Regions from separate parts of the Homo sapiens genome. Here all the other regions are linked to region 3. The links are contacts of gene promoters, found by promoter capture Hi-C in blood cells and fetal thymus (Javierre and others, 2016). All regions are on one chromosome and are shown on one strand. The core of a region is centred on a gene start or on the middle of the fragment in contact, and the rest is flanking DNA. Distances in the headings are between cores, read along the strand shown. Region 1 overlaps ZNF354C (zinc finger protein 354C). Region 2 overlaps ZNF354A (zinc finger protein 354A). Region 3 holds the start of ZNF354B (zinc finger protein 354B). Region 4 overlaps ZNF879 (zinc finger protein 879). Region 5 has its middle 8.4 kb from the start of ZNF354C.

Region 1 (2,700 bases), core at 28-2,527, 220 kb after region 3:
CTTCTACTCAGCCTGTTCTTCTGCATCTAACTTTACTATATCCAGGTGGAATCGCTTCATTTTCATTGTTAATTTGTCCAGTGTATTCTCCCATGCCATTCCTTAACCTGTTTACCTCACTTTCCTTTATCCCATCCTGTTCTTCCCAAGATTCAAGTCAGCATTTGAAATCTGATTGTATCACTCTTCTTTCATATATACTGTTACCAGTTTTTTTGTCTCACCGATACATCAGTTTGTTTCTTCCAGCAGAGGAGGCATTAATTCTTCTGATTCATTTTAGGTTTCAAGACTTGGCTTGAAACAGAAGCATTGCCTCATAGACAGGACATTTTTATAGAAGAAACATCTCAGGGAATGGTAAAGAAAGAATCCATTAAGGATGGTCACTGGGACATTAACTTTGAAGAAGCTGTGGAATTTGAGAGCGAGATAGAAGAAGAGCAAGAGAAGAAACCTCTTAGACAAATGATAGATTCGCATGAGAAAACCATCAGTGAAGATGGAAACCATACAAGTCTTGAATTGGGGAAAAGCTTATTTACAAATACAGCTCTTGTCACACAACAGAGTGTTCCTATAGAAAGGATACCCAATATGTATTATACATTTGGGAAAGATTTTAAACAGAATTTTGATCTCATGAAATGCTTCCAGATTTACCCAGGAGGAAAACCTCACATCTGTAATGAATGTGGGAAGAGCTTCAAGCAGAATCTGCATCTTATTGAACATCAGAGAATTCATACAGGTGAGAAACCCTACAAATGTAATGAGTGTGAAAAAACCTTCAGCCACAGATCATCCCTTCTTTCTCATCAGAGAATTCATACTGGAGAGAAACCTTACAAGTGTAATGAATGTGAGAAGGCATTTAGCAACAGTTCAACCCTTATCAAACATCTGAGAGTGCATACTGGAGAGAAACCGTATCGATGTAGGGAATGTGGTAAAGCCTTTAGCCAGTGTTCAACCCTCACTGTACATCAGAGAATTCATACTGGAGAGAAACTCTATAAATGCGGCGAATGTGAGAAGGCCTTCAACTGTAGAGCAAAACTTCACAGGCATCAAAGAATCCATACAGGTGAGAAACCCTATAAATGTAGTGAGTGTGGGAAGGGATACAGCCAGTTTACATCTCTAGCTGAACATCAGAGGTTTCATACTGGAGAACAACTGTATACATGCTTGGAATGTGGGAGAACCTTCACACGTATTGTAACCCTTATCGAACATCAGCGAATTCACACTGGACAAAAACCTTATCAGTGCAACGAATGTGAGAAAGCCTTCAACCAGTATTCATCCTTTAATGAACATCGGAAAATTCATACTGGGGAAAAACTTTATACATGTGAGGAATGTGGGAAAGCCTTTGGTTGCAAATCTAACCTTTATAGGCATCAGAGAATTCATACTGGAGAGAAACCGTATCAGTGTAATCAGTGTGGAAAGGCCTTCAGCCAGTATTCATTTTTAACCGAACATGAGAGGATCCACACTGGAGAGAAACTGTATAAATGTATGGAATGTGGGAAAGCCTACAGTTACAGATCAAACCTTTGTAGACACAAAAAAGTTCACACGAAAGAGAAACTCTATAAGTGGAAGGAATATGGGAAACCTTTCATCTGCAGCTCCTCACTTACCCAGTATCAGAGATTTTTTAAAGGAGATAAAGCCTATGAGGTTTAGTTCATCTCTCAAATAATCCAAGACTTCTCACTGGGGAATAAGGGAATAATAAATAGGGTACAAACTCCTAATAGATTTGTCTTTTTTACTTCTCCTGAAGGAAATATGTTAGTTGCCACTAAGTCATGATAAAATTGATCAGTGAGACTATGAAGAGCACTGACTTGTTAAATTTTAAAAGAACCATAAATTCTAAGGTATCTAAAAACCTATGAGTATTTAATTCATAGAAAAAATGTAAAAGGTCTTTTTAAAAATCATGAAAAATAGTTGAATATACATTTTGTTTCTCTCATAAGACCATATTCCCTTTAAAAGAGTAAGCTTCAATATGTGAATTTTCTTTTAAAAACAGTCACTGAGTTAATAATGTAAATAAGTGTGTGGCCTTCTTTAAAATAGCTGGCTAACATAGGAGGCACTTCTTTTCATAAAGAGAAGCTAAACATAAAAAGGAATTTTAAATTTAACTCTTCACATGGAAATAATAAAGCTCTTTATATGAGCTGTCCCACCAGCAACTTATATATGTAAACATACATATATACACATATGCATGTGTGTGTGTAAACATAAAAGTCCTTTATTATTAAAAAATGTAGTTTTATTGATTTAGAATTTAGTTCTTAAAATCTTGCCCAAAGGTAGACTCTCTTTCTTTTACTTTCTTCCATTATTTCTTAAATTGATGTGGTTTTATATAACTGAACAGAGTACTATTACAGTACCGTAGAAGGCGGATTAACTGAAGCAGCTGGAAAGACTGTCAAGCACATACTTTGTTATCTGTTGCAGAAGGGATGTATTTGGCAGAATCTCAGGCTGCATGTCTGGTAGCTCATTAGAGCCAGGAGAGATTTTAGTTTAATTATAGCCTTTCATTGTACTAACGAAGGATTTGAACTTAGTGAACAGAGTCAAGACTAGAATCTAGGTCTTTGGTTCTGGTGTTTTGTGATCATTATAGGCTCGTTTCCAACCTGAGGTCCCAAGAGTACTATT
Region 2 (2,700 bases), core at 69-2,568, 140 kb before region 3:
TCTTCCTTATGATCTGTTTAGAACTTTCTAGAGGCCTACAAATAGGTCTCCTGAGGTGCAGTTCAACCTTTGCTTCCTCCTAGAATCAAGCCCAGTCCTCAGCTACCTGTTAAACAAGGTGAAGACCTAGGTCAGAAGTTGAGAAGCCAGAATCATCTTGCTGATGGCCACTGCCCTGACCACTTCCTGTTATCAGGTCTAGACTCTTCCACCTGGACTCTCACTACACCCAGAGAGTGTTTCTTCAACCCTATCTCCCTGGATGATTTCATTTACTCCCACACCTCTTATGTGTACGACTATCCTGAAAAATACTTTACAGAGGTCTTTCCAACTGCCGGTTAGAATTTCCACTTGTGTATCTTTCTTTTTAAATTCAGCCTGTCCAAATCTGAACCCAGAGCATTCCTTTTCAAACCTTTTTTATATGTTTTCCAGTTCAAAATGACACCATCATCTCTTCAGTTAATTTACCGTAAATTCTTAGTTTTATCTTAGAATTTCTCTTCCCTAGGCAGTCATCAAAATCTTCATTTTTTTGTTTTTTGAGAGACAGGGTCTTGCTCTGTTGCCCAGGCTGAAATGCACTGGTGCCATCATAGCTCACTGCAGCCTCAAACTCCAGGGCTCAAGCGATTCTCCCACCTCAGCCTCCTGAGCAGCAGGAACTACGGGTGCACACTGCCAAGCTTGGCTAATATTTTTATCTTGCGTAGTGACAGGGTTTCATTGTGTTGCCCAGGCTGCACATTCTCTTAAATCTCATCACTAAAATGTCTCTAATAAGCCATCGTGAATATGTCTAAGTTCAGGATCTCCTCACTGTAGAGTGACTTGCTCCTGATCTTAAGTTATTCCTTTGACCTGTTTCTTGCCTTTCCAGTATTATTTCCCACTGGATTTACCCCTCTTAATACACAGAATTGGTCATGTTATTTCAAAAAGCATTGGTCACGCCTTACTTTATTAATTTATCAAATATTTAAAAAGTACCTACTATGTATTAGGCTCTATCCTAGGCATCGGTGATCCACAGTTCCCTACGGATCCAGTAATTAAAAGGAACAGTTGATTTCTTCAGAGAGTTTATAGTCAGACATTAGAAATGAAGACATCAGTAGGTAATCACAATACAATGTGACAATTTCTACAATAGAAACATAAGCTAGAAATGGACGTGAACACGAGCTTAGAATCATATCCAACTGTCCTTAGATAGTGAGGGTGCAGGTAGAAAAGGGGTGCAGCAGGACGCTGCTGGAGTGTTTCGTAAGAATTGACATATAAGATAGGATGTGAAAGGAATCGCCATAGGCTAGATGAAGGGGTAGCACAAGGGCTGAAGGCAGCACCCAAGTCTTTGAATGCAAGTCAGTTTTCCAGACTTATTTGCTGAAGTATCCACCCCCACCTTATCCTATAGCTAGTCAGAGTAAAAGCTCCACCTATAAAAATGTCACTTGCGGCCGGGCGCGGTGGCTCACGCCTGTAATCCCAGCACTTTGGGAGGCCGAGGCGGGCGGATCACGAGGTCAGGAGATCGAGACCATCCCGGCTAAAACGGTGAAACCCCGTCTCTACTAAAAATACAAAAAATTAGCCGGGCGTAGTGGCGGGCGCCTGTAGTCCCAGCTACTTGGGAGGCTGAGGCAGGAGAATGGCGTGAACCCGGGAGGCGGAGCTTGCAGTGAGCCGAGATCCCGCCACCGCACTCCAGCCTGGGCGACAGAGCGAGACTCCGTCTCAAAAAAAAAAAAAAATGTCACTTGCATTTGCAGTCTCACAAGGTTTTCTAGAGTCAGAGAACTCAAGGAGCAATCTGCTGGGAACTGCACATAAACCATGATGGGGGTAGTACTGCCTATTTGTAAACATCCTCTATCATCTTTGTGCTGGTGGAAAAGAGAAAAGCTGTTTTAGAAATGTTGTTGTGGTAACTCTTATTTTTAAAGCTTTTAACATAGAAATTTTCAGCATATGTAAAAGTAGTGTGAATTGTACAGTGAATCTCCAGCCAGTTTCAATAACCAGCAACACTATTCTATTGACAACCTTGTTATGGGCTGAACCGCATCATTCAAAAGAGAGACGTAGAAGTCCTAACTTCCAGGACCTCAGAACGTGACCTTACTTTAAAATATGGTCTTTGCACGTTCAATCAAATTAAGATGAAGTCATTGGGGTGAGCCCTAATCCAGCGTGACTGCTGTCCCCGTAAACTGGGGAAATTTGGACACAGGCATCCAGAAGGAAAGATGATGTGAAGACACCGGGCGAACACAGTGTGAAGACGGAGGCACAGATAGGACTGATGCAGCTGCAGGCCACGGAGATCTCCAAGTTGGCCATCGCTACAAGCTAGCAAAAGGCAAGGAAGAATTCTATGCAGAGTCTCAGAGGGAGCGGGGCCCTGCGAATATCTTGATTTTGACCTTCAGAACTGTGAGACAGTAAATCTCTACTGTTTTAAGCCACGAAGCTTGTGGTACTTCAGTATGGAGCCCTAGCAAACTAACACAAACCCTTTCATCTCGTCCACTAGGTTATGCTAGAGCACATCCCAGACAGCAAAATCATTTCATCTGTAAAAACATCAAAACCGCTCTTAGCACATCCATCAAAATTAACACCACTGCTTGCAGTTACTTTTGCCCCTAGAATACCTACACTAATAAGTCAAACTGCTGCAATGTAAAGGCA
Region 3 (2,700 bases), core at 152-2,651:
TTATTTTTTTAAGGCAGAATAATATTCCTTTGTGTATATAAACACATTGTGGCCGGGCTCGGTGGCTCACGCCTGTAATCCGAGCACTTTGGGAGGCCGAGGAGGGTGGATCACGAGGTCAGAAGTTCAAGACCAGCCTGGTGAAGATGGTGAAACCCCATCTCTATTAAAACTACAAAAATTAGCTGGGCGTGGTCGCGGGTGCCTGTAATCCCTGCTACTTGGGAGACTGAGGCAGAGAACTGCTTGAACCTGGAAGGCGGAGGTGGCAGTGAGCCAAGATTGCGCCATTGCACTCCAGCCTGGGTGACAGAGCAAGACACCGTCCCAAACAAACAAACAAACAAAACATTTCCTTTATCTATTCATCCATCAACAGATAGTTGTTTCCATATCTTGGCCATGGTGAATAATGTTGCAGCTAACATGGGAGTGCAGGTATCTCACGGAGTTTCACTTCCTCTGGATCTATAGCCAGAAATGGGATTGGTGGATCCTAATGTAGCTCTAGTTATAATTTTTTGAGGAACCTCTATACCGTTTTCTGTAATGATTGTACCAATTTACATCCTTTTGATAGTGGCCATCCTAATGGAGGTGCAGTGATTTCTCATTGAGTTTGGGTTTATATTTCTCTTATACCTAGAGATGTTTACCATCTTTTTATATGCTTGTTGCTCATTGCTCATTTGTATATCTTCATTGGAGAATTGCCTATTCAAGTCCTTTGTCCATTTTAAAATCAGGTTATTTGGTTTTGTTATTGTTGTTGAGTTGTAAAAGTTCCATATAAATCCAGGATACATTGCAAATCAGATATATGATATGTAAGCATTTTCGTCTATTCTGTAGATTGCCTTTGTTTCCTTTGATTAGCCAAAGTTTTTAAGTTTGATGTAGTCCCATTTGTCTATTTTTGCTGTTATCTGTGCTTCTGATGTCATATTCAAGAAATCATTGCCATCTCCAACATCCTGAAGTTTTTTCCCTTTTTACTTTAGTAATTTATAAAATAATTTGGTCTCACATTTAGGTTTTTAATCAATTTTGAGTTAATTTTTATGTATGGTGTACGGTCAGGGTACAGGCTCATCTTTTGCACGTGGAAATCCAGCTTTGTCAACATCTTTTGCAGGGGATTTTCCTTTCCCAATTGTGTAGTAGTTGTTTTCGTGCCGCCCACGCCATCCTGAAATTCACACACAGAGTTGCAAGTTACTGCCCTCCGGGAACCTCCCCTTCTCTTCCGAAGAACCAGGAACCCGGGGCTCTACAGCTCACCCGGGCCCTCTCATAGGTCTGGGCGCCTAACAGCTCAGCTGCGACCTCGCCTCAAACGCGTGGAACTACACTTCCCAGAAAGCCAGCGTCCTCCCGTGGACTCCATTTCCTAGAGGCCTTAGCGGCCGCCTTGCTCCTCTAGGTCCCAGGCGCTCTGCGGAGCTTTCGCTGCCCGGTGAGCGGCGCCGGGCTTGAGGTCGCCCAGACGTCGGAGGAGCCGGGTCACGAGGCTGGAGCTTCCTGCTTGCAGAGTGCGGCGGGGAGGCGCGGCCCGGGAACGCGGGATCCTGGGGAGGTGAGCGGCATGGCTGGCTGTGCCGGGAGGAGGCGGCGCCTGGCGCCAGGGCGACCTGAGGCCGCGGGGCTCCGAGGGCCTCTGTGGGCGCGGGGGGGCACCCCCGCGTCTGTCACCGGCCCCCGCGCCAGGACTTGGACTCTCGCCCCTCACGGGCCGCTCCGGTGCCGCTGCCGACGCCCCTGCCTCTGGCTCGCGCCGCCCGCCGTGAACGCGGGGCCAGGCGTTTCCTCCCGGGCCCACCCTGCGCGCGCCGTGTGGGCCTCGCGGACTCGGGGCGCCGGGACCCCGAGCGCAGGGCAGAGGCAGCCGGGCCCGGTTTCTGAGTCAGTCCCCAGGACGGCCACTCCTCCTGCCTCGGGACACCCAGCGCTTTCCTCTTCAAAGCCGTTTTCCGTGGAGTCGGGAGACGATTCGTTGGCGGGAGAGAGAGGAACCGGCTGGGAAAGGCTTGAGGCGGAGGGAAGTCGTCCCGGGGCCGTCGTGGTGGGAGTCCCGGCCCGCCTCGCAGCGGCGTGAACGGGGCAGGTGCCCCGGCGCTGCCTCAGTTTCCTGAGCGGTGCAGTGGGTGCTGGCAGTGCCAGCTGGCGCCGAGGAACTCAGCGGCGTGGGGCGAGCCCTGGCCCTGGTGGGCTCAGCGGGTCGCTGCTGCCACTGCGGGTCCAGCGTCCCCTCCGTAAGCCCCAAGCCTGTGGGGCCTGGGCCTGGCCGGGCGGCCCAGCGCTGCTCTGGTCCGCGGGCTCCTGGCTCCTCCCGAATCCCTGTGAGGGCGCGCGGGGTCCTTCTCAGCGGGAGTCGGGGTTTTAGAGCTGCGGATTCCAGGGCTGGAAAGCAGAAGGGGTTCTTCCTGGCTCCCTTTTTCTTCTCAGATCTGCCTTCTGGAGACTGCGCCGTCCTCCCGGGAGAGCCAGAAAGAGGACATGGCTGCTGGGCAGCGGGAAGCGAGGCCCCAGGTGAGCTCATTGCCCTCCCAGATCCCAGTGGATGGATTTTCCCCACTAACTGGAGTTCTTCACCCGGGACCATCTCCAGCCAGGATGGAGCCCAAGTCCTTTTCTCTTGGAGGAGCTGGTCCGCCCTCATGACTGGTGGATTCTGTAGGGAGGACCACCCACCCTCCCCAC
Region 4 (2,700 bases), core at 110-2,609, 170 kb after region 3:
CATCACAGTACAAAGACATGAGTATTGTGATTGAAAAGGCCAGGCATGTGGATTAAAAATCCACAAGGGATTTTTTGAAGCACTATTCAACTTCATTAAATTAAAATCAATGAAATTCCAACGAAGCACAAGTTACCATTTTTCCCTTATTACCAAGGATTAAGAAATAGATACCCAATGTGTTGCCACTGCTGTGAGTGATAAGCAGTATCGTTAGTGGGACTGCAACTGGTAGTCTTTCTGAGGATGGTCTGGTTTTATTAAAATCAATTCCAAGTGTAGAAATGTTAAGATAATTTCTGCACAGATAACTGTGCAGAGTTACAAAGATGTTGTAAAAGAATGTTTGTTATAACATGAGGCATCACTGCCACAAAAGGAGGAGGGTAAATGACTCTCAAAAAGGGATTTAGTAAATGATGATGTTTTCATGCATTGGACATATTATATTGCCATTAAAATGATGATGTCAGCCTACATTTATTGACATGGAGAGAAGCTCATGATTTTTAAGTGAAATGGAGGTAAAGGAAGCTTAATTTCAATCCATTTTAATTTTTTAATTAAGTGATTTTTTATATGCAGAAAATTCTGGTGAGCTATGTCCCACATATGATAGTGATTACAATTGCATGATGTATTTATGGGTGAGCTATGTGTTCATTTTTATAGTTTTCTGTGTTTTTCTTATGATGATATATTTCTTTTGTAGTTAAGAAAATAAAAGCTGTTTCATAAAATACAAAAGGAAATACATTTCTTTTGAATCAATGATTCCATTTCTTGTACTGTATCTTAAGTAACCAAAAAGGTAGACAAAAAATTACTCTCAATAATGTTCTTTTCTCCCAGTATTCCCCAATATCATGATAATGGTGTTGGTGTCCATTGAGTTGCCCAGACCAAAAGCTAGGAGTCATCCTTGAGTCCCCTCTTTCATTGCCTCTGCGCTCTATTCGTAGGTGAAGATACCTGCCAGTGCTACTTGCAGAACATCCCAGATACGCCCACCTCTTTCCGTCTCTTATCACCACATGCCAGTGTCAGCCACCACCATCTTCATCCAGGAAGAGTGCAGCGGCCTCATTGCCTGTTCTGCAGCTGCCCTTGTTCTCTTTCTCCCCGGCCCCATTACAGTTTGTTTTTCATATAGCAACCAGAGTGATCCTTTTTAAACAAAAACCACATCATTTCATGTCCCTTCTAGCCCTCAGTGATGCTGATGAACTTCCAATATCTTCCTGTATCCTAGAAAACGCTCCACAATATAGCCTGGCCCACCTCTTTTCCTCATCTGTGACACTCTCTTCTTGTTCACTCTGCTTCAGCTATCATGGACTGCTATATGTCCTGGAAAACAGGAAGCTATTCCTGCCTAGGGCCTTTGTGTTACTGTTCTTTCTGACTGGAATCACCTTTATACCCTAATTTTTGTCTGGCCAGCGCTTGTTATTTAGATCTCATCTTTAATTTCATTTTCTCATCACCCAGTTTAAAATAGTTGCCTATTCACTCTTATTACACAGTGCTTCGTTCGTGTTTTCTTACAGTTCTCATTGCTCCTTTGTACTGCTGTTGATTTGTTACTTGGTCATTGTCTGTATCACACTGCTGGAATGAAAACCTTGAGAGTAGGCCCTTGTCTGGCTTGTGCCCTGTCATTCTCAGAGTCTTAACGTTTGCGTAGCACACAGTAGGCACTCAGTAGGTATTACTTGAGTAAGTGGATGCCATTATTTACAGCATTCTGAGGAGGCCTAGAGCAGCACTGCTTGACATCCTGTGTTTGGCGGAGCTCTTCTCTTTCATTTAATTTTAGCCCCTCTGCAGTTTTTCCCTTGGTATTTACCTGAGTGCACTGGTAGCTGCCCTGGGAGATGACGCTGAGGGACACAGGCTGTGTTCAGAAGGGCCTCATAGCCTAGCGAGCTGTGCTTTGTTAATAGATCGAGCCTGGCTCTTCCTGTTGTCCCCTAATTTCCTCAGCCCACCTATATGTAGGTTTCTTCAGACCCTTCCCACCCACATGTCTGTCATCCTGCTTCCTTCCTCCTCTTCTTTTTCCCATCCTTTTCTAAGATTTCAAGGCTTTATATTTTTTAACTATCCTTGTGCGTTTTTATGTCACTTTTTAAAATTCTGAGTTCAAGAGAGACTTATATGTTTTGTCTACTTTAGGATGGGAAAGCTTGTTTGGAACCATAGTTTCTAAAGAAGAAAATCAGGAAGTCATGAAAAAACTCATAATTGATGGCACATTTGACTTCAAGTTGGAGAAGACCTACATAAATGAAGATAAGTTAGAGAAGCAACAAGGCAAAAAGAACAGACTTTTCAGTAAAGTGTTAGTTACCATCAAAAAAGTCTACATGAAGGAGAGGAGCTTTAAAGGTGTTGAATTTGGGAAAAATCTTGGTCTAAAATCATCGCTTATTAGAAAACCGAGAATAGTTTCCAGAGGAAGGAGACCCCGTTCACAGCAGTATTCAGTTCTCTTTAAACAACTGGGGGTCAACACAGTGCGTAAATGTTATAAATGTAATATCTGTGGGAAAATCTTCCTCCACAGTTCCTCCCTGAGTAAACACCAGAGAATCCACACTGGAGAGAAGCTCTATAAATGTAAGGAATGTAGGAAAGCCTTCAGCCAAAGCTCATCCCTAACTCAGCACTTGAGGGTTCATACAGGAGAGAAACCTT
Region 5 (2,700 bases), core at 138-2,637, 190 kb after region 3:
CTGCTCTAGCTATTACTTTACTTGTGTCACCTAGAAAAGGACCAGTCCTTAGTCTTGTTTCAAAAACCGTGATCATGGGAGGTTCAGAGGGGTCATAGCACACATCAGGCTGCCCACTTCCTGGATTACATACTTTGTACTGAGTGTTATTATATAAACATGTTCCTTATGGAGTTCCTGGGCACTCATAATAACTATGGAACAAAAAGATTGTTTTAACCTGTTGTCCTACCTCAGTGACCTGATGTAGCCACTGAAAGCAGTCTTCCATGTGAAAAGAAGCAGTGGAAGCTTTTACCCCACAAGTCCATGTCATAAGGAAAATAAGTCCCATGACGATTTTCCTCATGCTTCGGCCGTGCGCGGACCCGTCAGCTTCCGGGTGTGACTGGAGCAGGGCTTGTCGTCCTCCTCAGGGTCACTTTACAGGGATTGTCCAGGCTTGGTTTGGCCCTCCAGGTTTCAGGGGCTGCGGGATTTTTTTACGTGGCTGTGGTGAACCCAGGCCGGGATTCTGTCCACCTTTACAGCTGTGGGAGTGGTCAGGATAACGATCTGCGTTCCTTTCCACCGTGGCCGTGAAGGAGCTACGTTCCAGTCCTTGATCCACACATGGTCACCTGGAGAAAAAGGGTGAACTGGGGAGAGTAAGCTGACCGGGCACCTCTCATTTACCCAAGTTGAGATTGTCTGGGTAATCTTCCCTAGGGCCTGTAGCTATCGCTGCAGTTCAGTTTCACCCAACTCTTGGGGAGTACCCGGAAGTCCTCGCAGTATAGGAGGAGGCCTATGATATAATATTTCATAAAGGGAGTATCCTGTTTTCTTAGAGGGGGTGCACCTAATTTTAAACAATACCATAGGAAGGGCCTATATCCATTTTAATCCTGTCTCTTGACATACTTTCCCTAAACTATTTTTGATAGTCCAATTCATTCCCTCCACCTTTCGGGAACTCTGAGGTTGGTAGGTGGCATGTAGCTTCCAAGTGATTCCTAATACCTTTGCCGTCCTCTGTACTAAGTCAGCCACAGATGCCGGCCCATTATCTGAGCCGATTCGTAGAGGCAGTCCAAACCTAGGGATGAGATCTCGAAGAAGCACACGGGTTACTTCACAAGCTTTTTCAGTTCGTGTTGGATAAGACTCTATCCACCCAGAGTAAGTACACACTAGAACAGTAAATACTTGTTACCTCCGCATTTGGGCATCTCTGTGAAGTCCACTTGAAGATCTTCAAAGGGAGCTGCTCCACAGGCTTGTGTGCCGGGAGGAACAGGGGACCTTGCTTTGCATTGTGCATCGCCGCGCTACTGTTTTAGCAAGAGCTGGCAAGTGTGAGATGTAGAAATACCGGCTTAACAGCTTTTCAAGTGACTCCTGGCCTAAATGGGTAGTTTCATGTACAGCCAGCACAACTGCGGCTCCTAGCAGCTGTGGCACAGCTATTCTCCCATCTGGTGACTTTATCCATTCTTCTTTTATTGTTTGTCCTCCCTTTGCCTGAAGAACGTCTTTTCCCTTTTTAGAATAAGTAGGCACCAGATCAGGTGTTTGAGGGAGTAGAGGGGCTGTGACTGATGCCTGGTAAAGAGTAGATGCTGCTTTTTGTGCCTCTGTGTCTGTTCGGGAGTTTCCTTGGCTTACTGAGGTGGAAGCTTGCAGGTGTCCCCTGCAATGCATGACTGCTACCTTTTGGGGTTTCCATACTGCCTCTAATAATTGCAGAATTTCTTGTTGATATTTTATGTCCTTTCCCCCGGAATTTAACAGGGCTTTTTCTTTATATAATGCTCCGTGCACTTGGAGGGTTAGAAAGGCATATCGAGAGTCAGGATAAATGTTCACAGTCTTACCTTCACGGAGTTCTAGAGCCCGGGTTAAAGCAATGAGCTCTGCCTTCTGGGCTGAAGTGCCGTGAGGCAACGGTTTGTCTTCAATAACATCATCCAAGGTCACCACCGCACATCCTGCGCATCTTTCTCCTTGCGGATTGATGAAGCTGCTCCCGTCCACGTATAACTCCCAGTCCACTGATGCCCATGGCTGGTCTCGAAGATCGGGCCTGCTAGAATAGACTGAGTCCAACACTTCCACACAGTCATGTTCGACAGGGCTGTCTGATGCTGGGAGTAAGGTGGCAGGATTCGGAGTGTTACAGACGTCAGTGGTTATGTGGGGGTTTTCACATAACAAGCTTTGGTACTTGGTTAATCTAGCATTTGTTAACCAATCATGTCCTTTGGTATTCATTAAAGTTACCACTGCATGGGGGGGGCCTTTATACTTAAGTTTTGCCCAAGGGTTAGCTTGTCTGCTTCTTGTGCTAACAGGGCTGTAGCTGCCAGGGCTCTCAGACATGGAGGCCAGCCTTTTGAAACTCCGTCTAGCTGTTTTGAGAGGTACGCCACTGGTCTTGGCCAGGGCCCCACAGTTTGGGTTAAAACTCTGACTGCCATTTTTTGTCTTTCTGACACATAGAGTGTAAAGGGCTTTGTCAAATCTGGTAGTCCTAAGGCTGGGGCTGACATAAGTTTTTCCTTTAACTTGCAAAAGGCTTGCTGTTGCAGAGGTCCCCATTCAGAAGGCTCCTGGTCGCCCCCCTTTGTAACCCCATACAATGGTTTGGCTAGCACCGCAAAGTTTGGAATCCATAATCTGCAAAATCCCACGGCTCCTAGAAATACCCTTACTTGCCTT

The links. Contacts are between HindIII fragments. The CHiCAGO score rates a contact against its expected background, and 5 or more counts as called.
Region 1: a fragment that was not itself captured here is called in contact with the fragment with the promoter of ZNF354B in region 3 in 10 of 17 cell types (non-activated CD4 T cells, M1 macrophages, erythroblasts and 7 more); the score reaches 9.0 in non-activated CD4 T cells.
Region 2: a contact is called between a fragment that was not itself captured here and the fragment with the promoter of ZNF354B in region 3, in 4 of 17 cell types (non-activated CD4 T cells, naive CD4 T cells, monocytes and 1 more). The highest score is 5.5, in non-activated CD4 T cells.
Region 4: a contact is called between a fragment that was not itself captured here and the fragment with the promoter of ZNF354B in region 3, in 10 of 17 cell types (total CD4 T cells, naive CD4 T cells, non-activated CD4 T cells and 7 more). The highest score is 10.2, in total CD4 T cells.
Region 5: a contact is called between a fragment that was not itself captured here and the fragment with the promoter of ZNF354B in region 3, in 1 of 17 cell types (non-activated CD4 T cells). The highest score is 5.4, in non-activated CD4 T cells.

What each region holds. Positions count from the first base shown.
Region 1 is chr5:179,078,400-179,081,099 of GRCh38, forward strand. It overlaps ZNF354C (zinc finger protein 354C), which reads left to right. Exons shown (of 5, transcript NM_014594.3): 5 at 284-2,700. The coding sequence ends at 1,698. Among named protein-coding and RNA genes, the nearest start is that of ZNF354C, 19 kb to the left of the region's middle. The HindIII fragment of the contact is 1,486 bases long and covers 535-2,020 here.
Region 2 is chr5:178,718,202-178,720,901 of GRCh38, forward strand. All of the region lies in intron 4 of ZNF354A (zinc finger protein 354A), which reads right to left. Among named protein-coding and RNA genes, the nearest start is that of ZNF354A, 11 kb to the right of the region's middle. The HindIII fragment of the contact is 1,263 bases long and covers 688-1,950 here.
Region 3 is chr5:178,858,552-178,861,251 of GRCh38, forward strand. ZNF354B (zinc finger protein 354B) reads left to right here and starts at 1,402. Exons shown (of 5, transcript NM_058230.3): 1 at 1,402-1,576; 2 at 2,446-2,529. The coding sequence starts at 2,497. RefSeq lists enhancers at 1,252-1,984, 1,269-1,468 and silencers at 1,609-1,808, 1,889-1,968. The HindIII fragment of the contact is 7,869 bases long and covers 1-2,700 here.
Region 4 is chr5:179,030,027-179,032,726 of GRCh38, forward strand. It overlaps ZNF879 (zinc finger protein 879), which reads left to right. Exons shown (of 5, transcript NM_001136116.3): 5 at 2,179-2,700. Among named protein-coding and RNA genes, the nearest start is that of ZNF879, 7.6 kb to the left of the region's middle. The HindIII fragment of the contact is 1,654 bases long and covers 533-2,186 here.
Region 5 is chr5:179,050,664-179,053,363 of GRCh38, forward strand. No RefSeq gene overlaps it. Among named protein-coding and RNA genes, the nearest start is that of ZNF354C, 8.4 kb to the right of the region's middle. The HindIII fragment of the contact is 537 bases long and covers 1,120-1,656 here.